Regions from separate parts of the Homo sapiens genome. Here regions 1, 2 and 4 are each linked to region 3. The links are contacts of gene promoters, found by promoter capture Hi-C in blood cells and fetal thymus (Javierre and others, 2016). All regions are on one chromosome and are shown on one strand. Each heading gives the region's core, a stretch centred on a gene start or on the middle of the fragment in contact. The rest is flanking DNA. Distances are from core to core; before and after follow the strand shown.

Region 1 (5,260 bases), core at 2,498-4,997, 970 kb after region 3:
TTTTTGTATTTTAGTAGAGACAGGGTTTCACCGTGTTGGCCAAGTGGGTCTGGAGCTCCTGACCTCAGGTGATCCGCCCTCCTCACCCTCCCAAAGTGCAGGGATTACAGGCATGAGCTGCCACGCCCGGCCAATTCAGCAAATTTATGTGGGATTCCACCTAGAACTCCAAACCAAGGTGCTCTGAATATGTATTGGTAGTATAAACAGAATCCACAGCCCTATCCTGGATTATAAGCTCGTTAGGGAGGTAGCAAAATACATGACACTGACCTAAGAACACATGAAAAGCAAAGAAACATGAATGCAAAGTCATGTCATATAAGCTGTTTAAATCCTGAGTAAGATGAATTTAATTTGCATCTATCCTACTGACCTATAATCCGTGACTCACTTGTCTCTCTCCTCCAGTAGACATGACTAGGCATGACCCATATAGTACTGAACTTTGTATTCCCAGCACCTTACCAAAGTAGGTGCTGGGAATACAAAGAGGAGACACCCCACAAATGTTAAATAAAACACTTAATGAATGGTTCTAGGTAGGTGGGGTTGATCAAGGAATTATCTTACAAGTGGTATGGGTTTTTTGGTTTTTTCTGAGGTGCAGTCTCACCATGTTGCCCAGGTGATTCTCCTGACTCAGCCTCCCAAGTAGCTGGGATTACAGGCACTAATTTTTGTATTTTAGTAGAGACAGAGTTTCACCATGTTGGCCAGGTGGGTCTCGAGCTCCTGGCCTCAGGTGGTCCACCTGCCTCTGCCTCCCAAAGTGCTGGGATTACAGGTGTGAGCCACCGCGCCCAACCTAGTCTTTTTATAGAACAGTTATCTCTGTAGCCAAACTTACATCATATTATTTAATTTTCCTTGATTCGGGGGAGGGGGGAGGGATAGCATTAGGAGATATACCTAATGCTAAATGACGAGTTAATGGGTGCAGCACACCAACATGGCACATGTATACATATGTAACAAACCTCCATGTTGTGCATATGTACCTTAAAACTTAAAGTATAATAAAATAAAAGATTTACATAAAACATTTTTCCTTGATTCTGTATTAAAGGAAAGATGACATTATTTTCAATGTCTGCAAAATATTTCACTGATGGGCATTTAGAGTGTTTCCATTTCCCGCTATCATAGATACTGCTTTAATGAATATTTTTTGTTTATAAATAGTTTTCTTTTTTTGTGTGTGGATATAGAATCTTGCTTTGTTGCCCAGGCTGGAGTGCAGTGGCACAATCTCGGCTCACTGCAACCTCTGCCTCCCGGATTCAAGCAATTCTCCTGCCTCAGCCTCCCGAGTAGCTGGGACTACAGGCGCACGCCGCCACGCCCAGCCGATTTCTTTTGTTCAGGCTGGTCTTGAACTCCTGAGCTCAGGCAATCCGCCTGCCTCGACCTCCCAAAGTGCTAGGATTATAGGCGTGAGGCACCCCGCCTGACCTATAAATATTTTTCTAAGAACATTTCCTTAGGCTATATTCCTAAACATGGAATTATTGGGAACATTTTTATTTTTCTATTTTTTTTCATCTCTTCAGTATTCAAAACATTCCTAAATTCTGGCCGGGTGCGGTGGCTCACGCCTGTAATCCCAGCACTTTGGGAGGCCGAGGCGGGCAGATCACGAGGTCAGGAGATCAAAGCCATCCTGGCTAACATGGTGAAACCCCAACTCTACTAAAAATACAAAAACAAAATTAGCTGGGCGTGGTGGCGGGCACCTGTAGTCCCAGCTACTTGGGAGGCTAAGGCAGGAGAATGCCATGAACCTGGGAGGTGGAGCTTGCAGCAAGCTGAGATCAGGCCACTGCACTCCAGCCTGGGCGACAGAGCGAGACTCCATCTCAAAAAAAAAAAAAATCTTAAATTTCTATATAAGTTGTCAAACTATTTTTTCCAGTTTAATCAACTTACACTTCTACCAGCAGTATGAGAGCTTTTATCCCACTGCACAGTCACATAGGAAAAATGGTTTATGTAAAGGACCTCTCTTCTGTTATTTAATACCCATGAATTTCTTATATAGTTGTAATCAGCGAACCCATACTACTTTGGGTTCTGCTTATTTCACGGGGAAGGATTCTATATCTATCAATATAGTTCACATTCTAGCCATTTAAAATCATTCTTTAATTCTTCATTGTGTTAACAGATCCCAATAAGCTTGGCGATTTTCTTATTGTCAGGACTCGGGTTTATTTCCAGTTTTTGCTATTAAATTGGCTATTTCTGCATCTTTGCACAGTCTCCCCTACTTTACCAAGAGTGAAACTGCTTGATCAAAGAATAGAAAATGTTTTGTAGCTCGCATTAGACACTGCCAAGTTGTTGGGCAAGGTTTTTAAAAAAGGAATATTGGCTGTACAGAGGTGCAGCTGTGTGGACCATCATTCCTGAGCAGGGTCCAATAGCCTGGCATCTTACCTGGAAGTCAGGACATCTAAACTTCCCTATGGGAACTTGGTAAGCCCCTTCCCCATTTCGAACCTCAATTTTCTTATCTATAAAATGAAGAATTTGGATGGAATGAATTAATCCTTTTCTACCAGAAATCTAGCCATATTTCACCTAGTCTATTCTGTATCACCCTCTCCTGACTCCTACGTGCTCAGAATCTAGCTCAGTGCTTGGGACAGTTATGTTTCCTTTCCCTTTGAAGTGCCCAAATACCAGTGTAATGAGAAATATGGCAGAGCCTGAGAGTTCAGAGCACAGGCCAGGGTCAAATCTCAGCCCTCCACTTACAAGCTGTGTGACAAAATAACCTCCCCCGGGCTCAGTTTCTTCACTGTAAATTAGGTTAATTGTTCCAACCTCATAGGGTTGTTAGGAGAATTAAATGAGTTAAGGTTTGCAAAACGCTAAGAACAGTGCCTGGCACACAGTAAGTGCTTTATAAAGTGTTTGTTGAATAAATAAAATTTTGGACCTAAACTCTGGGTCTCTTCAGGACTGCAACAGCTTTGTAACTGGCAACCCCACTTTTAGGTGCGTTCCCACTCCTCTAAAACCCAGAGATCTAAATGCCAAATCTCTCTGCTTAAAAAGTCTCCCAGGGCTCCTAGGCGCCTCCAGGCTAGAACAGAAATGCCTCAGCTTGAAGACCCAGGCTTTTCAGGTGAAACACCTAAGGGTCAGGAGACGCTAGGATCATCACTCAAGGATCCCAGTGAATTTTTCCAAAATACAATAAAAATAAAAACAAAAAGAGGCAAACAGGGTTATAAAAATTGTGGGGCATTTTAAATGTTTCATTGAACAAATTAAAGCATTAACAGCCCTCCCCCAACCACCACCAAGCCCAAGAGACCGTAAATATGCTGTTCACAAGATAACTGCAACTTTCAAGGGCTCTCAGGCTGCTACTTCGGGCAGCACAATTGGCGGCACGACGTGGCAAGCAGGCAGTAGTTTCCAACCCTGGAGGGTCAGCGTCTGGAGACCCCGGCCAAGGCATCCACAGCCTAAAGATGATGTCCGCGACCGCCCGGGCAGCCTCGTGCACGGAAAAACCTCAACCCCGGCCCCGCCCACCCTTCCTGCGGCCACCCCGCAGCCCTGGCCCCTCAGTCCATTCACTCCTGCAGCGCGGCCCCGCACCCAGGGCCTGCACTAGAACCGCTGTTCCTACCGCGGCGCCCCCTGGGAGCCAACGCCGCGATGCCCGCCTGACGTCAGGAAGTCGAATCCGGCGGCGACGCCTTTAGGGAGCCCGCGAGGGGGCGCGTGTTGGCAGCCCAGCTGTGAGTTGCCCAAGACCCACCGGGGGACGGGATCTCGCTCCCCGCGCCACGAGGCTCGGCCAATGGGAACGCGCGCTGCGAGGCCCGCCGGTCTGCCCTGCGGTGCTGAAAACCCGGCGCGCAGGCGGCTGGCTCTGGGCGCGCGCCAGCAAATCCACTCCTGGAGCCCGCGGACCCCGAGCACGCGCCTGACAGCCCCTGCTGGCCCGGCGCGCGGCGTCGCCAGGCCAGCTATGGCCCCCGACCCGGTGGCCGCCGAGACCGCGGCTCAGGGACCTACCCCGCGCTACTTCACCTGGGACGAGGTGGCCCAGCGCTCAGGGTGCGAGGAGCGGTGGCTAGTGATCGACCGTAAGGTGTACAACATCAGCGAGTTCACCCGCCGGCATCCAGGGGGCTCCCGGGTCATCAGCCACTACGCCGGGCAGGATGCCACGGTGAGCGCAGCCAGGCGGGGGCACAGGAGAGGGCGGGACCGGAGGCTGAGTGCAGGGGAGACAGAGTTACGCACTCCGAGCCAAACACCGACTAATTCGGAGGAAAGCCCGGAGGCGCCTGATCATACCTGTTGCCCGGTGATTGGGTGTCCTGCGGATGCGGGATGAAAAGGCGGGAGAGAGGCCTGGAGAAGTGGAGTCTGGGGAGTGGGGATGGAGGCCAACAACACGCACACACAAACAAAGGGTCCCGCCTCCCTGCCGTGCATTCCATCTGCAGCCCCGAGCCTCAGGTCTCTGGGCGGGGACAGAACCCCGAGCTGGGTAGGCTAGGAGGGAGGAGAGCAAGGATGCAGGCCGCCTGGGGAGGGAGGGGGTCAGTGGCCAGGGGAGGGAGTCACATCCTGTCTCGATGGCTAGGAGAGGCAGCGCAGCCGCGTCTGGACCTAGGTGCCGGTCTCCACTCGCCAGCAGGAGCGGAGAGGGAGCAGGAAAGGAGCCCATTCTCGAGGATGGGGCTGAAACGGGAAGCTTGGGGAGACCGCTGCCTTGGGGACCCCTGCGTCGTGTGAAGACTGGAGGACGCGGAAGGGACAGCGCTGGCCGGGGAGGGCAAGCGGCCGCTGGCGTACATAAGGGATTGGGAATGGCATACACTTAGCGAGGACCCCCAGAGCTGTTCTCGAATCGCCGGGGAGGCCACTGAGCCGCAGGCCAGCGAGGTCTTCAGCTATTCCGCGGAGCGGACCGCTGTTTACGCTCTGGGGCGGTAGGCCCTTCGCGGGGTCCTGTCCCTTCTTCCCTTGGTCTCACTGCGGGGTCGGCGCGCGCCCCAGCCCCAGGCCTGCTGCTTCCCTTTCTAGACCACAGCCCTCAGAGCTAAGGCCCCGGCGCCTCTCTGCTGGGTTGGAGTCCTGGGGACTCAGTCCTAGGGACTCGAAAGTCGGGGCGTTCCCTTCACCGCGTTTCCCCCTTGGCGGCCAGAATGGCGTCCCCTCCCCTTGCATCCCCCTCTGATCCCGTGCCCTGCAGCGTGATGCCCTCCACTGTCCCTATCCACTACCC
Region 2 (5,716 bases), core at 3,103-5,602, 820 kb after region 3:
TGTGCTGAACCTCCAGAAACCACCGGCTTGGCTCTTCTCTCATCTGAGGTCCCTCCCGCCACTCCTGGCCCTGGGAGGCGGCTGTCCTGGGAGACCAGCCAAACTCTCTGCTGCCTCCAAGTCACGAGGAGCTGAGCTGGAGGGTGGGGGAGGTAGAACCCTGGTCAACAAAGGTCCCAAGACCAGGCCACAGCTTCGGAAGAATCTAAAGGCTTAGACATTGCAGTTCTGACACCTCAAGTTACCAGAAAGTAGGGAACGGACACAAGCAATCATATAAACAATCATAAACACACACACACACTCACACTCCCCCACCAATAGATTTCCCTTCCATTGTTCCCAGCCAGCCTCCTCCCAATGACCTTCTACAGCACAAGCTGTCCCTCAGTCTTGCTGCGATGTTCACTGCAGCTACATGCATGTTTAGCCAAGCATGGAGCCAACACTGATTCAGGAAACCTACTCCCTGCAGCAGACCGACTTCCCTCCAGTGGGTCCGAGAGCTTCATGCTGGCTTTGTCCCCCTGGACATCCCGGAAGCCTGGAAACTCAGCACATCTAGTCCAAAACCAAGCAGGCCTTCCCCAAGGGCTTTCCCCGAAACCTTCATTTCCTCCTGTGCTCCTTGGCTCAGGGAATGGCAGCAGCAGCCAGGCCTACCAAATCATAAAGCTGAGAGATCTCTTACACACTGCCCACCCCTGGCCCCCGACTTTCGCCAATCAGTCTGTTCATTTGATCTTCTCCAGATCTGTCAAATCTGTGTTCTATCTTCTCTGCTCACTAATAACTAAGGCTGCTGCCTCCTGACTGGTGCCCAGCCCTCTAGCCTCACTCTCATCCATCCTCCACATTCAATCATGAATCCATCTGTTCATGCAACAGATACTGGGCACCAAGTAACAAGCAATTTGCAAAAAGCTGGGAGTGCAGAGACAAGACAGAAACAATGCCTGCCTTCCAGGAGCTTACCATCTACAGCACCAGCGCAGGCAATCAAAAGGGTCTCATAAGGCCAGGTGCGGTGGGTCATGCCTGTAATCCCAGCACTTTGGGAGGCCGAGGCAGGTGGATCACTTGAGGTCAGGAGTTCGAGACCAGCCTGGCCAACATGGTGAAACCCCGTCTCTATTAAAAACACAAAAATCAGCCAGGTGTGGTGGTAGGCACCTGTAGTCCCAGCTACTTGGGAGGCTGTGGCAGGAGGATCTCTTGAACCCGGGAGGTGGAGGTTGCAGTGAGCCGAGATCAAGCCACTGCACTCCAGCCTGGGCAACAAGGGCAAAACTCCATCTCAAAAAAAAAGGTGTGACACATACATAGTACTTCATTAAACATACAAATATATATTATAGTTCCTAATCTTCATCACTTACATGAGCTACAAATATCATCCCAATTTGTCATCTCTGTTTTAACCTTGTTTACAACATCTTTTGTCTTACAGCTTTTCATTTTTAAATAGGCAAACCTGCCAACTGTACTTTTACGGCTTCTGACAGCCTCAGAAGAACATTCCCTACCCCAAAATTATAAAAATAATCTTGTATATATTCTTCTCAAAACTTTATACTTTTTTTAAGGCTTGGATTTTTAATCTATCTGGAATGTATTTTTAAATACTGAGTGAGTCACTTTTCTCCACATGACTGTCAATTGTTTCAACATAATTTGTTAAACCCATTCTTTCTTCCCTAATGTGACACAACAGTTTAGCATATACCAAGTTCTCATAATAGGGGGGCAGGACTATTTTGTTGCATTAATCTAGTCATCTCTTCCTGTGCCAGTACCATACTGCTTATAGCACTTTACTGTACCTTTATTATAGCACCAAATGCAAATCTATCAACACACTGACTCCTCCAAATGAACTTTAGAATCATTTTGTGAAGTTTCAAAAAAAAAAAAAATACTGTCCCAGAGACAGTAATGGCTGAGGAAAAACAAAAACAAAAAACTGCCTCTTATGGAAATTGCAGTGAATTTATGCTTATTTGGGGAAACTGACATCTTTACAGAATGAAGATTGACCGACCATTTGGGAATATGGTACCTCTTCATTTATGCTAGGCTTTTTGAATTTTTTGTCCAGCAGTAAGCATTTATAGTTTTTTCTATATATTTCTTGTTAACTTTATTCCAAGGTACTTTAAGCTTTTGTTGTCAATGTAAGTGAAAAACATTTTTTTTTCCATTCTTTTTTCCCCATATTTTCTAACTGGTGGTTACTGTTATAAAGGAAAGCTTTGGATCCTATATATGGTGACTTTGCTATACTCTTATCCTAAGAGATTCCCAGTGTAAGGTTTCTAAAAACAAAGCTAATGAGGTGTCTCTATGCTGTCTCTAGGATCAAGTTTAACCTCTTTTTATGGAACACAACCCTGCCCGATCTTGCCCCTATTCTCCACCCTAACCAGCATCCCCCAACATAAACTGTACTTTCCAGGCCAACATTCTTTCTTTCTTTCTTTTTTTTTTTTTTTTTTGAGACGGAGTTTTGTTTTGTCTTCCAGGCTGGAGTGCAAAGGCGCGATCTCGGCTCACTGCAACCTCCGCCTCCCAGGTTCAAGCGATTCTCCTGCCTCAGCCTCCAGAATAGCTAGGATTACAGGCGCATGCCACCACGCCCGGCTAATTTTTGTATTTTCAGTAGAGAAGGGTTTAGCCATGTTAGTTAGCCAGGCTGATCTCCAACTCCGACCTCAAGTGATCCGCCCGCCTCGGCCTCCCAAAATGCTGGGATTACAGGCATGAGCCACCGCGCCCAGCCCCAGGCAACATATTTTCTTAAGGCAGCTTTAACAGGCCATGCATTTCCACATTTCCACACCTTTGCATATGCTGTTCACTCTGCTCCAAATTCCCTTCCCTGTTTCTCTCCCGCACTTCACCTTCCTTTTAACTTTTTCTTCAAACTCAGCTCACGTGTCTTGCTTAGGGAGGGCTTCCCCGACCTCCTCCTATCCCAGACTGGGTAAGGTACTCCTGGTCTAGCAGCATCCTTCTGTTTACCTTATTCTTGTAGCTCTAGCACCACTAAAACGTTTTTCCTGTAAATAACATAGGTGCATTTTTAAATGAAACCGTGAACAAGAAATCACCCTAATTCCGTCGGCAATTTATTTTAGTATTTCAGTAGAGTTGCTTTTTTAAACTAAGGTTTGGAAGTCTAGCTTCCAGCTGCAGGTTTGTGAGCATCCTGAAATTCAGTTCTTCCACCGATGCGTCAAAAGACGCGACAGAACAGTGGACCTCGAAGCCAGGACCTAGGTAAGGGCAGGGCCTAGCTCTAGCTCTGCCACCCATAAATTCACATCCACCCTGTGCCTGGGACTCAGCTTAGCCACACACACCGGCCCCACCCCTCCGGGGTCTCTTTCACCTGTCACCCGCCATTAACCCCGTCAGCTTCTCTCCAATGACACCCCAGGGTTGTCCTACAGGGCCACCGAAGCCTGAAGCTCCTGTGAGTGGGGCCGATAAGAGGCCATTTTGAAAAGTCCTCAGCATGGGCTTCGCCTTTAGATCCACGTCGTTTCTCCTTTCTAACCCGAGATGTGTCCCTTGGGTGCGAAGCGACACCAGCGATTCTCTCGGAGGCCCCGGTGGCTCACCCCCACGACTCCCCGGGGAGGCGGTCCCCATCCCTAGGGAAACCCGGCCCGCCCAGCCTTTGTTGCAGAAACCGCACACGGAGCCATATTTGCTTTCAGCCAAAGGCAGACGTGGTCGGAGGAGTCGGAAGGGCAGGGGCGGACCCGAAACCCGCCGTGCGCCCCACTTCTCCATCGCGCTCCTTCCTGGACTCTGAGGAAGAGAAAATGCGCTCGACCACCTAAGGACCGCGTCTCCACCTTCCACCTTCCCAATCATCTGCAGCTTCCCAATCTGCAGCAAGGTGTCACAAGGGCTTCTCCGCAGCTATGATTTCTAACACCATGCCCCGGGCCAGGAGCCTCAGGGTGCCCGTTCGGGAAAATGGGAGCCGAATCAGGATCACCCCATGCGCCCCCGCACCCTTCCCCCGCCGGTTCCAACGCCCGGGCGCCCCTAGACCGGGGGGGGGGTTCTGAGGTGGACTTCCTGCGCCTCCTCGCAGCTTCCCTCCAACTCCACTAAACGGGCACAGAGACGCCACCGCTGTCCCAGAGGCAGTCGGCTACCGGTCCCCGCTCCCGAGCTCCGCCAGAGCGCGCGAGGGCCTCCAGCGGCCGCCCCTCCCCCACAGCAGGGGCGGGGTCCCGCGCCCACCGGAAGGAGCGGGCTCGGGGCGGGCGGCGCTGATTGGCCGGGGCGGGCCTGACGCCGACGCGGCTATAAGAGACCACAAGCGACCCGCAGGGCCAGACGTTCTTCGCCGAGAGTCGTCGGGGTTTCCTGCTTCAACAGTGCTTGGACGGAACCCGGCGCTCGTTCCCCACCCCGGCCGGCCGCCCATAGCCAGCCCTCCGTCACCTCTTCACCGCACCCTCGGACTGCCCCAAGGCCCCCGCCGCCGCTCCAGCGCCGCGCAGCCACCGCCGCCGCCGCCGCCTCTCCTTAGTCGCCGCCATGACGACCGCGTCCACCTCGCAGGTGCGCCAGAACTACCACCAGGACTCAGAGGCCGCCATCAACCGCCAGATCAACCTGGAGCTCTACGCCTCCTACGTTTACCTGTCCATGGTGAGCGCGGGCGGGCCTAAGCGGTGGCGGGGGCCGGGCGCGGTTCCCGGGGCGCGCGCTGGGGCGGGCCGGGGGTGTGGCCACCCGCGGGCTCTCCCGCCTCCCTGCGCCCTTCTGGAAAATGGAGGCTGCTCGAGGTTTCCGAGGACTTCTCTGGCGCAGAAAGTCGGGGCAGCTGGTTCTTCTCGGCTGTACCCTGAGAATGCTCCCTCCTAGGCCAGGGCCGCCTCTGCACACCCTTCTTTTTTAAGGAGACCTTGGTGTCCTGAAATCCTGGGGTTGCAAGACTGCCAGCCTGTGTGATCAATCCTGCGGTTAGGAAGGTGGAGTTTTGCTTTCCCATCTTTTCCTCTGCCTCCGGCATTTGGCCCTAAATGCCAGCGTTTTTTGCTTAGGTATCCAGCTCCCGTCCGCCTGTGTGTGGCGGAGCTGCTGGGTAACGGTGTCGAATAGCAAACCTTGGGGGCTGGCGGGAGGTGGCTTATCTTGTGGGTAGATCCCTCTCGAGCAGCCGTATCCACCTCTCGGCTCTGCTTATCTCTAAGTCCCACTTGCTTTGAAGCATATCTCTAGGAATCGCCCCTTCTGCAGTCACCGAAGTGTCACCTGACCTTGCGCCTAGGGGACCTAATTTATCTTTTATGTATCTTACTGTAAGAGGTGTGGAGTTTGGCCTACTAATTGAACCCCCAGTTCTTGGATAAAGTCCACCGACAGTTACTGGGCAAGAAATTTTTCAGTGATCAGTGGAATCAGTTTTCCCAAATCTTGGTCTTAGGCAGTGTCGTGGGAGTCTTCCTTAGAATTGCCTTGTGATTGTCCAAACTATCCCAAGAATAAATGTGTTCCAAATGGATTTGAAAACAGGCCTGTATTTCTGTGACTGTCACTGCCTTTCACAAACACTTGACTACATCAAATGTCTAAAACTGAAAATCAAATTTTTGTGATATAACTATTATAAAAGTATGTTTACATCAACATACTGTCCACATTTGCCACCTTGCATGGGGGTTTTTAATTTGTGTGTGTGTGTGAGAGA
Region 3 (5,330 bases), core at 27-2,526:
TGCTGGAGTGCAGTGGCGCCATCTCGGCTCACTGCACGCTCTGCCTTCTGGGTTCATGCCATTCTCCTGCCTCAGCCTCCTGAGTAGCTGGGACTACAGGCACCCGCCACCATGCCTGGCTAATTGTTTGTATTTTTAGTAGAGACAGGGTTTCACCGTGTTGGCCAGGATGGTCTTGATCTCCTGACCTCGTGATCCGCCTGCCACGGCCTCCCAAAGTGCTGGGATTACAGGCGTGAGCCACCAGGCCCGGCCAGTGTTTTTGTTTTTGTTTTTGCGATGGAGATTCGCTCGTCACCCAGGCTGGAGTGCAATGGCACGATCTCGACTCACTGCAACCTCCGCCTCCCAGGTTCAAGCGATTCTCCTGCCTCAGCCTCCGAAGTAGCTGGGATTACAGGCATGAGCCACCACACCCGGCTAATTTTTGTATTTTTAGTAGAGACAGAGTTTTGCCATGTTGGCCAGGCTGGTCTCGAACTCCTGACCTCAAGTGATCCGCCTGCCTCAGCCTCCCAAAGTGCTGGGATTACAGGCGTGAGTCACCGCGCCCGGCGGATCTCTGAGGTTTTCTCATGGTGTAAAATAGGCACACTAGTGCCTACTTTATAGGCATTAAATGAACCCATGTTTATTAACCAGATTACCTGGCTGGGGTAAACGATGTAAATTATTGGCTTCTACCTTTACGTCAGCGTTTTCTCCATCTCTCATTTTGTCATTTAACACACTGTGCTACAATCATGTGGCAGCTTGATCATCTCCACTACACTATGCTTTATTTCTCGACAAAGCTCAGCACAAATGGCTTCTGATTTAACGGATGGACGCAGGTTCTGCACTGACTTCTGTTTCGGAACCACAGTAAGGCTGTGCAGCAGGAGCCACGAAACCCGACTCCACCTAGTGCTTTAAGACGCTACTGACCCGTCCCTTTGGCGAGGGGACAACTTCGAAGTATGACCTGGCCAGGAGGAGCCACAAAGCGCGATTAGCCTCGCTGCATTTCAGGTACAGGCCGGCGCCAGCCGTGCCTCACCAGGTCCACCGGCTCCGAGCAGCAGCAAGCCCGGTCGGAAAGCGAAAGTGGCCTCGCCATGTCCAGACCGGCCAGCTCCCCCGCCTACCTGACCCCGCCCCGCAGCCGCACCTGGGTCCGAGTCATCGCCGCGGCCGCCACGGCCCCGCACAGGAAGGCGGCAGCAAAGAGCGCAAGCTCGACGCGCTGCAGCCAGGACAGCGCCATGGCGCCCTGACCACCAGGAAGCGCCGCTGCAGCAGCACCCCGCCCAAAGCCCACCTTATCCGGCGCGACCCACGAAGGTGGAGACGTCATTTCCGGGGGCGGGATTTATTTACAAGGAACGAAGGGGCCACTGACTCAGAGCGGCAAGTACAGCGAGTAGTCCGAGAGCGCCCACCGGCGGGCGGGGCGGCTGGTACGGCCGATCATGGGCAGTTTCTGCACGTAGCGCGAGGCCGGGCTAGGCCCGTACGGCGCGGGGAAGGCAGTCTGGAAAAGGCGCCCGCGGCAGCGCCTCCCAGCCTGCCGCCCGGCTATGATGAAACGAAAGTGCGGGGCGCCGCGCGGGGCGAAACGGCTCTTCTGGAAAACGTCGCGGGTGCCGGTCCCGGGGCCCTGCTGCCGGGGTGCCCCGCGCGCCCGATGCACGCGCGGCAAGGGCCTGCTCTCAGAGGCGGCGGGCCCAGAGGCCGACGCGGGGCCGCCTCCGCCGCTGCCCCGGGGGCTCTCGTCGCCGTGCGGGCTGACTATGGCGCTTGCCGTCAGCTGCGGCATCTTCCGCACCGAGTCCGGGGCTGCCGCCGGCTCCTTCTTGTCCCCGGGCGGCCGCGGAGCCGTGGGTGCAGGCTGGCCGGTGCCAAAGCGTGTGGCCAAGCTGTCACCGAAGAAGGCGTAGAGCTCCCGGTAGATGTCGGCCAGGGTCACCGAAAGAGAAGGGTCCTCCGGCCCCGCGCCCCCTGGCGGCAGCGGGAGGCCGGACCCAAAGCTGGGTTCTGCACCGCCCCCGGAGGACGACTCTTGAAAGAGAAGGCTGTCCCATGGCAGGTCGTCCAGGCGCCGGCACCCCCTGCCACCTGGGCCACCCCTGTTGGGCTCTGCTGCCTGGGCCTTCATCTTCAGCAGTCGCTCTACCGCCACCTGTAAGAGCCAAGGACTAAGATAGGCAAAAAATTCGAGGAACCTGGGCCCATCAAATATTCCAAAGTAAGCCTGCTTGGCTGCTAAGCTCATGCAGGGAAGGGAGGCTGGAAGGGGACGGTACTCACCAGAATGGCTCCATAGACTTTGTGTCCATCTGCTTTGACCTGGGCATTAGATACTGAATAATCATCCAGCACAGCCTGCAAGTTTGTCCAGTAGGTGGACAGGTGTGGGTACAGGACTCGTTCTACTGCCTGGAAGGAAGAGAAGGAATACAGTTAGCATGTCTTTGATACTTATTCCCTCTCAAGGACCCTTTCCCATGAAAGACCTACCTTTATCTCTGATCCTAGACAGGGCTCAATCCTCCTAAATTCCCTGATTGGCATATTCAACCATATATTTATTTGGAACCTACTGTATACCTAAGCTAGGCATTGGGAATAAAGATAAGGTACAAAGGGAGACAATAAAAAATATACCCAATATCACTGCCCTGTGTGCTAAATAATGCTCATTACTGACAACTCCAAAATTTAGTTTGCATACTGCTACCCTATACAATCAGGCAAGTACTGGCTTCACTTAGATGTAAACTGAGACTCAGTTCAAACAATCTGCATAAAAACAACCAACCAGAGACTTGGACTCTGATTATACAATTTAAAATCCTGTGATTGGACAGGCGCTGTGGCTCACGCCTGTAATCCCAGCACTTTGGGAGGCCGAGGCCAGTGGATCACCTGAGGTCAGGAGTTCAAGACCAGCTTGGCCAAGATGGTGAAACCCCATCTCTACTAAAAATACAAAAATTAGCTGGGCGCAGTAGCAGTTGCCTGTAATCTCAACTACTTGGGAGGCTGAGGCAGGAGAATCACTTGAACTCGGGGGGCAGAGGTTGCAGTGAGCCGAGATCACACCACCGCACTCCACCCTGGGAAGCAAAGTGAGACTCCGTCTCAAAAAAAAAAAAAAGAATTAACTATAAGGAAAATACCAGCTGGGCCTATAAGGAAAATACCAGCCGGGCGCTGTGGCTCACGCCTGTAATCCCAGCACTTTGGGAGGCCAAGGCAGGCGGATCAGGAGGTCAGGAGTTCGAGACGAGCCCTGGCCAGCACAGTGAAACCCCGTCTCTACTAAAAATACAAAAAATTAGCCAGGTATGGTGGTGAGCGCCTGTAATCCCAGCTACTCGGGAGGCTGAAGCAGGAGAATCGCTTGAACCCAGGAGGCAGAGGTTGCAGTGAGCCGAGGTCGCGCCATTGCACTCCAGCCTGGGTGACAGTGTGAGACTCTGTCTCGAAAAAAAAAAAAAGGAAAGAAAATACCATGCCAGAATTTACAAAAGTCTACAGACACTCAAGAAAAAGATAGGCGAGGTGCAGTGCCTCACGCTTGTAATCCCAGCACTTTGGGAAGGCCAAAGGATCACTTAAACCAAGGAGTTTGAGACCAGCCTGGGCAATGTAGGAAGACCTCATCTCTATTAAATAAAAAAAGAAAAGAAAAAGATGATCTAAATCTTATTAAAGTAAATATAAAAAAGAAATACTCCCCACATCATTCTGTAAGGCCAGTATAACCCTGATTCTAAAACCAGACAAGGACAGTACATGAGAGGAAACATGTTTAATTTCACTCCTGAATATAAACCCTTTTAAAATTTAGCAGACCCACAAGTAAATTAAAATGCATTACAGTCCAATAAAAGCTTTGGGTTTTTTCTTTACGACTATCCCATGACATAGTTTAGTGTATCATGGAACTATAAAGATTGTTTACTATCAGGAAATCTGTAATAACATTGGAAAACAAAAGCTGAAAAGCCTTCGGATCATTTCAAAAGATGCAGAAAAACCATCTGATAAAAATCCAATATAAATTGATGATAAAATTAAGAATATAGGCCAGGCACGGTGGCTCACACCTGTAATCCCAACACTTTGGGAGGCCAAGGCGGGCGGATCATGAGGCCAGGAGATCGAGACCATCCTGGCTAACACGGTGAAACGCTGTCTCTACTAAAAATACAAAAAATTAGCCGGGCATGGTGGCGGGCGCCTGTAGTCCCAGCTACTCTCGGGAGGCTGAGGCAGGAGAATGGCGTGAACCCGGGAGGCGGAGGTTGCAGTTAGCCAAGATGGCGCCACTGGACTCCAGCCTGGGTGTCAGAGCGAGACTCCGTCTCAAAAAAAAAAAAAAAATTAAGAATATATATATATGGCCAGGCACCGGTGGCTCACGCCTGTAATCCCAGCACTTTGGGAAGCCGAGGCGGGCGGAACACGAGGTCCAGAGATTGAGACCATCCTGGCCAACATTGTGAAACCCCGTCTCTACTAAAAATACAAAAATTAACTGGCCCTGGTGGTGCGTGCCTGTAAGTCCCAGCTACTCAGGAGGCTGAGGCAGGAGAATCACTTGAACCCGGGAGGTGGAGGTTGCAGTGAGCCGAGATCACGCCACTGCACTCCAGCCCGGGCGACAGTGTGAGACTCTGTCGCCCGGGCTGGAGTGTAGTGGCGCCATCTTGGCAAGATTCCATCTCAAAAAAACAAAAATCTCAAAAGCAACAAATAGAACTTATTCCAGGTATACAAAAGTGGTTCAGAAGAAGAATCCATTAATACACCTAGCATATCAACAGAATAGAACTTGTCATATTAAACCACATAATCGGCTGGGCGTGGTGGCTCATGCCTATAATCCCAGCACTATGGGAAGCCGAGGCAGGCAGACCACTTGAGGCTAGGAGTTTGAGACCAGCCTGGCTAACATGATGAAACTGCCTCTCTACTAAAAATACAAGTTAGGTGGGCATGGTGGCACGTGCCTGTAATCCCAGCTACTCGGGAGGGTGAGGTGGAAGAATTGCTTAAATCCAAGAGGGAGAGGTTGCAGTGAGCTGAGATCATGCCACTGTACTCTAGCCTGGGCGACAAGAGCAAAACTCCGTCTCAAAAAAAAAAAAAAAAGATCCTCCCTCTTAATATTATCACAGTGGCAACACCTAACTTTTTTTTTTTTTTGAGACAGAGTCTCGCTCTGTCGCCCAGGCTGCAGTGTAGTGGCGCAATCTCGGCTCACTGCAAGCTCCGCCTCCCGGGTTCACGCCATTCTCCTGCCTCAGCCTCCCGAGTAGCTGGGACTACAGGCGCCCGCC
Region 4 (6,024 bases), core at 16-2,515, 840 kb after region 3:
TTTGGAAGTAGAAACGCAAGAAAGTGAGCCCAGAGGCTGCCCTTTGCTTTGGCAGGGAAGACGTAGATAGGCGTGTGCATTGCCATGTGCCTTTAACTTTCTATAATCACTGGGCGCAGTGGCTCATGCCTATAATCCCAGCACTTTGGGAAGTCGAGGCAGGTGGATCACCTAAGGTCAGGAGTTCGAGACCAGCCTGGCCAACATGGTGAAACCCTGTCTCTACTAAAAATACAAAAAAATTATCCAGGCGTGGTGCGGGTGCCTGTAATCCCAGCTACTCAGGAGGCTGAGGCAGGAGAATCGCTTGAACCCAGGAGGTGGAGGTTGCAGTGAGCTGAGATCACGCCATTGCACTCCAGCCTGGGTAAGAAGAGCAAAACTCTGTCTAAAAATAAATAAATAAATAAATAAATAATACAATGACAAAGGCAGTAACAGCAGCAATGTCTACACACTAAGCTCAGGTCCTCTGGGCTAGGCAGTGTTCTCAGCCCATCTTGTTCGTTAGCTCCCAAGCTCTCTCAACCACCCTAGTGTGAGAAGTATGGAAGGGACCAGGCAGCCCTGTCCACCACCATATTCCCATTCCCATAATGGAACCTAGCTGGTAGAGATGCTCAAATGATGTTTACTGAATGGTGGCTCCAGGGCCTTTCCACCTGCTGATCTTCCTGCCTGGAGGAAGCTCTTCCTGAGATACCTGCATGGTTCCTTCCCACTCCAGGTTCCCTTTAGAAAGGATGTTCCCAACCATCCAACCTGGAAATAGAGCCCCACTGCCACCGGTGCTCTGTGTCTCCTCACCTTGCTTGATATTTCTAGAGAGCACTTATCACTACTTGAAATTATACAGGATATCTGCCTGTTTCCTGCCTGTTTCCTCCTCAGAATGGAAGCTCCTCTTGTGTTCTCGTAGAAGGCGCTCAATAAAAATTTACTGAAGCAGTGATTGATGCCCCCTCCATTCTTTCCCTGTGTGTTTTGCTGCAGCCACACTGGCTGGCTGTGCCTGATGCACACCAAGCTCATTCCCACCTCAGGGCATTTGCACAGACACACAGGTGCCCACACACCTGCGCATGTGCTGCCTGTGTGTGCATATCCCACACAAATACGCAAGATGGCCATCCAACCCTGAAGGCCTCAAAGCCCCAGCCCAGTCCACCTGGGGCACCTTGTACTCACAGGTGGGGTTCCAGGTGGGTCCGATGATCCCACAGAAGGTCTGGCGACTAGGCTGGTGGGACTCCCTGGGACTCTGTGGCCAGTGCCCCTGCCCACTCTTAGAGGCTGGCACTGCCCACGTGAGTGCTGAGCCGCCGTCACTTGACTCCCTAAGCCAGGACCTCCACAAAGGAGTCCTTGTCTTAGTCCCTTCTTGTAATCTGCTCAGAAGCAACGGCTAGCACAGCCTGGCCATGGCCCCTCTAATTTCTTCTTGGAGGGTGTTGGGCTGAGACCAGGGCTGGAATTTAGGGCAACACCCCCTCTACCATGGCCCTAAAATCCAGAGGCTAAAGGATCTGCTCCACCAGTGTTCTGACCCCTGAGGCCTTGCAGAGAGAGTTGGGGGTTAGGGGGCTGTGCTGAGCTTCAACTTCTGTGCCAGGAACTCTCCAGGAAGGAGGAGCCTCTGACTAGGCCCTGGGGTCTTTGACAGCCCTGTGGGCTATGGAAAGAATGAATACCGGGCTGCAGTCAACAGTCCTGGTTTCTGGTCCCAGCCTTGCCACCTGTGTGTGGTGACCCCGGGTAGGTTTCAGCTCCTCTCTCAGCCTCAGTGCCCTTATCTGAAAAGGATGGTGTTGCTTGGGAATTTCATCACCCTAGTAAAATGACAGAATTCTGCATATGCTGACGAGGAGCTCTGATTGGCTGCTGGTGACATCATACGTTATTCTGGCTGTGATTGGCTGGCAGGGCCCATCAGTAAGTTGCTTCAGAGAGATGGAAGGAGAAGCCTGCCGGGGCTGGTGGAGGGGGGTGAGTCTGGTGGGGGTTGACAGAACAGCCCTGGAGTTTATGCTGCTGGCTTCCAGCCAGCCAGTGCAATATGGGAATAAATGCCCAGATCCCCACGGGCAGCTGGTGAAAATCTCAGCATGTGATTCAATAAATTTTAATACATCAATCCATACTCAAGGGCTCTCCTAAGCTGTTGGAAGTGGTGGGTGTCTACCTACACACTCCTCTTGTATTGTTCAATGAAGAGAGCAGAGCTCTAGGCAGCAGTGGTTCTTGGTCTTTAGAGGCCGTAAGAATCGCCCAAATGTTTATTAAACGGGCAGTTTTCTGGATCTTTCTCCAGAGTCTGAGTCTGTGGCCTTAGGGATGTTGCATTTTAATCAAGCACTGCAGGGGATTATGAGATGTGTGGTTTTGGGACTAAACTTCCAGAAGCCCTGATTTTATAATATGACCTTGTGTCTTAAACCCACTCTCATCCTCCCTTTCCTGTCACCCTCTCTCTCTGAAATGTACTAAGCGTTAACTATGCTGAGATTGCAGGTGATTTTTCTACACACCACTTTTTTTTTCACTTTAAGTTCTGGGATACGTGTGCAGAATGTACAGGTTTGTTACATAGGTATACATGATGTGCAGGTTTGTTACATAGGTATACGTGTGCCATGGTGGTTTGCTGCACCTGTCAACCCATCATCTAGGTTTTAAGCCTTGCGTGCATTAGGTATTTGTCCTAATGCTCTCCCTCCCCTTGTCCCCCACCCCCACACACCATTTTTGCCTTTATATAATTATCTGCCTAGAAAAAAAAACACTATTTCGCAATGACCTTGAATACTTTTCTAATCATGGCAAACAATAAAGCTGTTGTTATTATAAGACTCTCTTTAGAGGCAGCCTTGTAGGAGTATTTACTGCCTCCCCGCTGCCCCATCGCTGTCCTCAACTGATATGGGGAAAGAAGCAGGTTCACTTCAGCCTCAGTCTCCTCATATGCAAAATGGGACAACGATGCCTACCTTGGCAGCCGAATGAGAATGATGGATGGGACATGTGTCCGTCAACTCTCCAAACCACTGGTGCCTGTGCCTGACCCCTACGAATTCTGATTTGATTGGTCTGGATGGACCCCAGGTGTTGGGATTGTTCAAGTTCTCCAGGTGATTCTGATTTTATGGCCTGTGCTGAGTCATTGCTTAATGGATTATTTCCCTATCCTGTATTCCCTTCCCAACCAACACATCCTGAAACTCAAGAGCTTTCCATTTAGAAGATGATAAATATATATTATATATATTTATATATTAACATATGTAAATATGTATTAATATGTCTATAATATTACAAATATATTTGTATGTACACATATATTTATACATATAAATATATAAGTAAATATATAACTATATTTTTGAGACAAGGTCACCCAGGCTGGAGTGCAATGGGTGTGATTTTGGCTCATTGCAACCTCCACTTCCCAGGCTCAAGCAATCCTCCCATCTCAGCCTCCCAAGTCGCTGGGACTACAGACGCACACCACCACACCCAGCTATTTTTTTTTTTTTTATAGAGATAGGGTCTCACTACATTACCCAGGCTGGTATTGAGCTCTAAGTTCAAGCAGTCCTCCCACCTAGGCCTCCCAAAGTGGTGGGATTACAGGAGTGAGCCGCCACACTCGGCCAATAAGTATGTTTTAACTAAAGTTAACACACATGCCTGGCACCATGCCTGGAACATTGATGCTCATTCTGTACTCTCTGAAGGAATAAATGAAAATCCTGCCTTTGTGGAGACAAGTTCTTGCCTTCCCTGTGGTGGCCACTAGAGAGCGTGCTTGACTAGCTGGCTCTGGCTGGGGAAGCCTGGTTCACTGGTCAGGATCAGTGCAGACCACGGAGCTGGCACTGCTTCATCTCCCTGACCCCGACCAGCAGCCATAGAGCCATGAGAGGGAGTTGGAGACACTAGAGTCCCTCCTCCCTGTTCCCTGAACCGCAGGCTCCTTGGCAATATCCCAGGAGTACCACCAGGACCATAGACAGTGCATGGCCAGTCTCCCTTCCCCTCCCAGAGGCCCCAGCATGTCCCCAGAGACATCCCATGAGCAGCTGCTCCTGGCCCTGCCCCAGAGCTGAGACAGGCACACCCTGGCACAAGTCATGGTCTCTCCTACTGGGTCTCAGCTATGAAAATGTCCCCAGTTAGCCAGGCACGGCTCAGGCACACAGCAAAGTCATGAGTGCTGATTGACCCAAGCCATGCCTGGAACAAGAGTCCCAGGATTGACCCCTGCAGAGATGGCACCCAACCCAGTCAAGGTCGCCCTCTTCTGCTTTCCGTTCCGCAAAGAAAATATTCGCCAAACCATTTCTCCTTCCAGAACTGAGCCTAATCTGATTCCTGCCTGTACGTATTCATAGTCAAAAAATTTGGAAACACTTAAATAACAACTCTAACACAGAATGGCAAGGCCTAAGATCTGTGCCAAGTGCACAGAGGTCAGGGAAATTTTTACAGACAATGGGGCATTTCGGTTGGGTCTTGAAGCATGAGTAGGAGTTCATGGAGCTGAGAAGAATGGAAGAGCATTACACATCAGGGGAACAACCTACGGAAAGTCATAGAGCTATTCCTGAAGGATGATTCAGTATCGCATGTTTATCCACATTTTACAAAGGAGGACACTGAAGCTCAAGGCCTGCCTTGTCCAAGGTCACACAGCTATAAATGGCTTGAGACTAGGATCTAGGTCTTTTGATTTTGGATCCTGAGCCCTTTCCCACTATCAGCTCTACAGTAAAGGTCAGTTTCTGAGAGGTAGAGTCTTACCTGCTAGGGTAGTGGTCTCTCTTGGGGTTGAAGGGAGGTCCAAAGGATGGGGCCTGCATGAAAGATACTTTTTTTTTTTTTTTGAGACGGAGTCTCGCTTTGTTACCCAGGCTGGAGTGCAGTGGCATGATCTTGGCTCACTGCAACATCTGCCTCCTGGGTTCAAGTGATTTCCGGCTAAGTATTGTATTTTTAGTAGAGATGGGGTTTCACCATGTTGGCCAGGTTGGTCTTGAACTCCTGACCTCAAGTAATTCACCCGCCTCGGCCTCCCAAAGTGCTAGGATTGCAGGCATGAGCCACTGTGCCTGGCCGCATGGAAGAAACTTTGACTGCAGCAGATTCCAAGCTCTCGAGCTCCCCAGCAGAGAGCCATCTCTTGGGGCAGCAGGGCAGAGCTGGGGAGATGCGCGGGGGTGCCAGACACAGAATGCTATGGCCTTCTCATCTAGAATTACCATAGCAACAGGAGCATCACAGAGGGCCTGCCTCGGTGCCCTTCTAGGCCCTGCCTCAGCTGGGCAGGAAGAAGGAGACCCAGCTTGGCTGGGGGCAGTAGGCAGGGGGCCCCGGGGTAAGTCAGCCAGGCCTGGATGCTGCCTCCAGGCTTTATGTGGGACACCTGCCAGCCCACACCCCTCTCTTGGGCCAGTCACAGAACAAATAGGGCAGAGGCCAAGAAAGAAAAGGAGGGGGCTTGGCATAGCTGGACAGGGGTGCTGGGGGACACTGCCAGTCCAGGGCCCGGAAGCCAGACAGACAACAGCACCTCCACCCTGAGCTCAGGCAGCCCTGATCCCTGAAGGACGGAGTAAACTCAACATTCAAAGAGATAGAAACATAAGCCCTGGGCACCACAGAAAGACGACAGAAACCAGGAGAGGCTGGGATACACCTAGGTCCAACTTCATCAAACCCAGTCCTGCCCATGACAACGGAATAGCATGGAATAGACCAGAGCTGGACCAACTAGAGACACAAGGCAAGAGGATCCACTGTGCTGCGAGGTCCCCCATGGACTCTGCCAGGCTGCAGTCGGCCAGGTGAGGCACTGACCACTATCCACCTTCCACCCACCCCCACCCCTCCAGCTCAGAACTGGGGCTCGTGGCAGGTGGGTAGCGGAAAGGACATCATGGGTCAGGCTTCTCCTAGACAACTGTGCAGGGCCTGGATGCTGTCAAAGGTTCACACCCAGTGAGTAGCCTCAGTGTCTTCAGCTCA

What was found. The method cuts DNA at HindIII sites, captures the fragments that hold promoters and counts their contacts. A CHiCAGO score of 5 or more calls a contact.
Region 1: the fragment with the promoter of FADS1 here is called in contact with the fragment with the promoter of TMEM179B in region 3 in 6 of 17 cell types (monocytes, M0 macrophages, fetal thymus and 3 more); the score reaches 7.5 in monocytes.
Region 2: a contact is called between the fragment with the promoter of FTH1 here and the fragment with the promoter of TMEM179B in region 3, in 4 of 17 cell types (fetal thymus, total CD8 T cells, monocytes and 1 more). The highest score is 10.8, in fetal thymus.
Region 4: a contact is called between the fragment with the promoter of BEST1 here and the fragment with the promoter of TMEM179B in region 3, in 2 of 17 cell types (monocytes and M0 macrophages). The highest score is 8.2, in monocytes.

The regions. Positions count from the first base shown.
Region 1 is chr11:61,815,490-61,820,749 of GRCh38, reverse strand. FADS1 (fatty acid desaturase 1) reads left to right here and starts at 3,747. Exons shown (of 12, transcript NM_013402.7): 1 at 3,747-4,195. The coding sequence starts at 3,821. It overlaps LOC124902680 (a long non-coding RNA gene), which reads right to left and starts at 2,730. Exons shown (of 2, transcript XR_007062696.1): 1 at 1-2,730. It also overlaps a transcript of FADS2 not described here. RefSeq lists silencers at 3,386-3,485, 3,826-4,025 and an enhancer at 4,546-5,260. The HindIII fragment of the contact is 2,548 bases long and covers 2,181-4,728 here.
Region 2 is chr11:61,966,270-61,971,985 of GRCh38, reverse strand. FTH1 (ferritin heavy chain 1) reads left to right here and starts at 4,352. Exons shown (of 4, transcript NM_002032.3): 1 at 4,352-4,674. The coding sequence starts at 4,561. It overlaps LOC399900 (a long non-coding RNA gene), which reads right to left and starts at 4,692. Exons shown (of 1, transcript NR_187560.1): 1 at 3,107-4,692. RefSeq lists enhancers at 1-11, 1-109, 3,246-3,295, 3,416-3,485, cis regulatory regions at 1-375, 1-380 and silencers at 4,006-4,355, 4,626-4,825. The HindIII fragment of the contact is 7,079 bases long and covers 2,253-5,716 here.
Region 3 is chr11:62,783,348-62,788,677 of GRCh38, reverse strand. TMEM179B (transmembrane protein 179B) reads right to left here and starts at 1,276. Exons shown (of 5, transcript NM_199337.3): 1 at 1,151-1,276. The coding sequence starts at 1,246. It overlaps TAF6L (TATA-box binding protein associated factor 6 like), which reads right to left. Exons shown (of 11, transcript NM_006473.4): 10 at 2,290-2,418; 11 at 1,336-2,161. The coding sequence ends at 1,382. It also overlaps a transcript of TMEM223 not described here. RefSeq lists a silencer at 1,646-1,755 and an enhancer at 2,006-2,205. The HindIII fragment of the contact is 7,473 bases long and covers 1-3,880 here.
Region 4 is chr11:61,945,592-61,951,615 of GRCh38, reverse strand. BEST1 (bestrophin 1) reads right to left here and starts at 1,265. Exons shown (of 11, transcript NM_004183.4): 1 at 1,189-1,265. It also overlaps a transcript of RAB3IL1 not described here. RefSeq lists a silencer at 5,404-5,567. The HindIII fragment of the contact is 17,311 bases long and covers 1-6,024 here.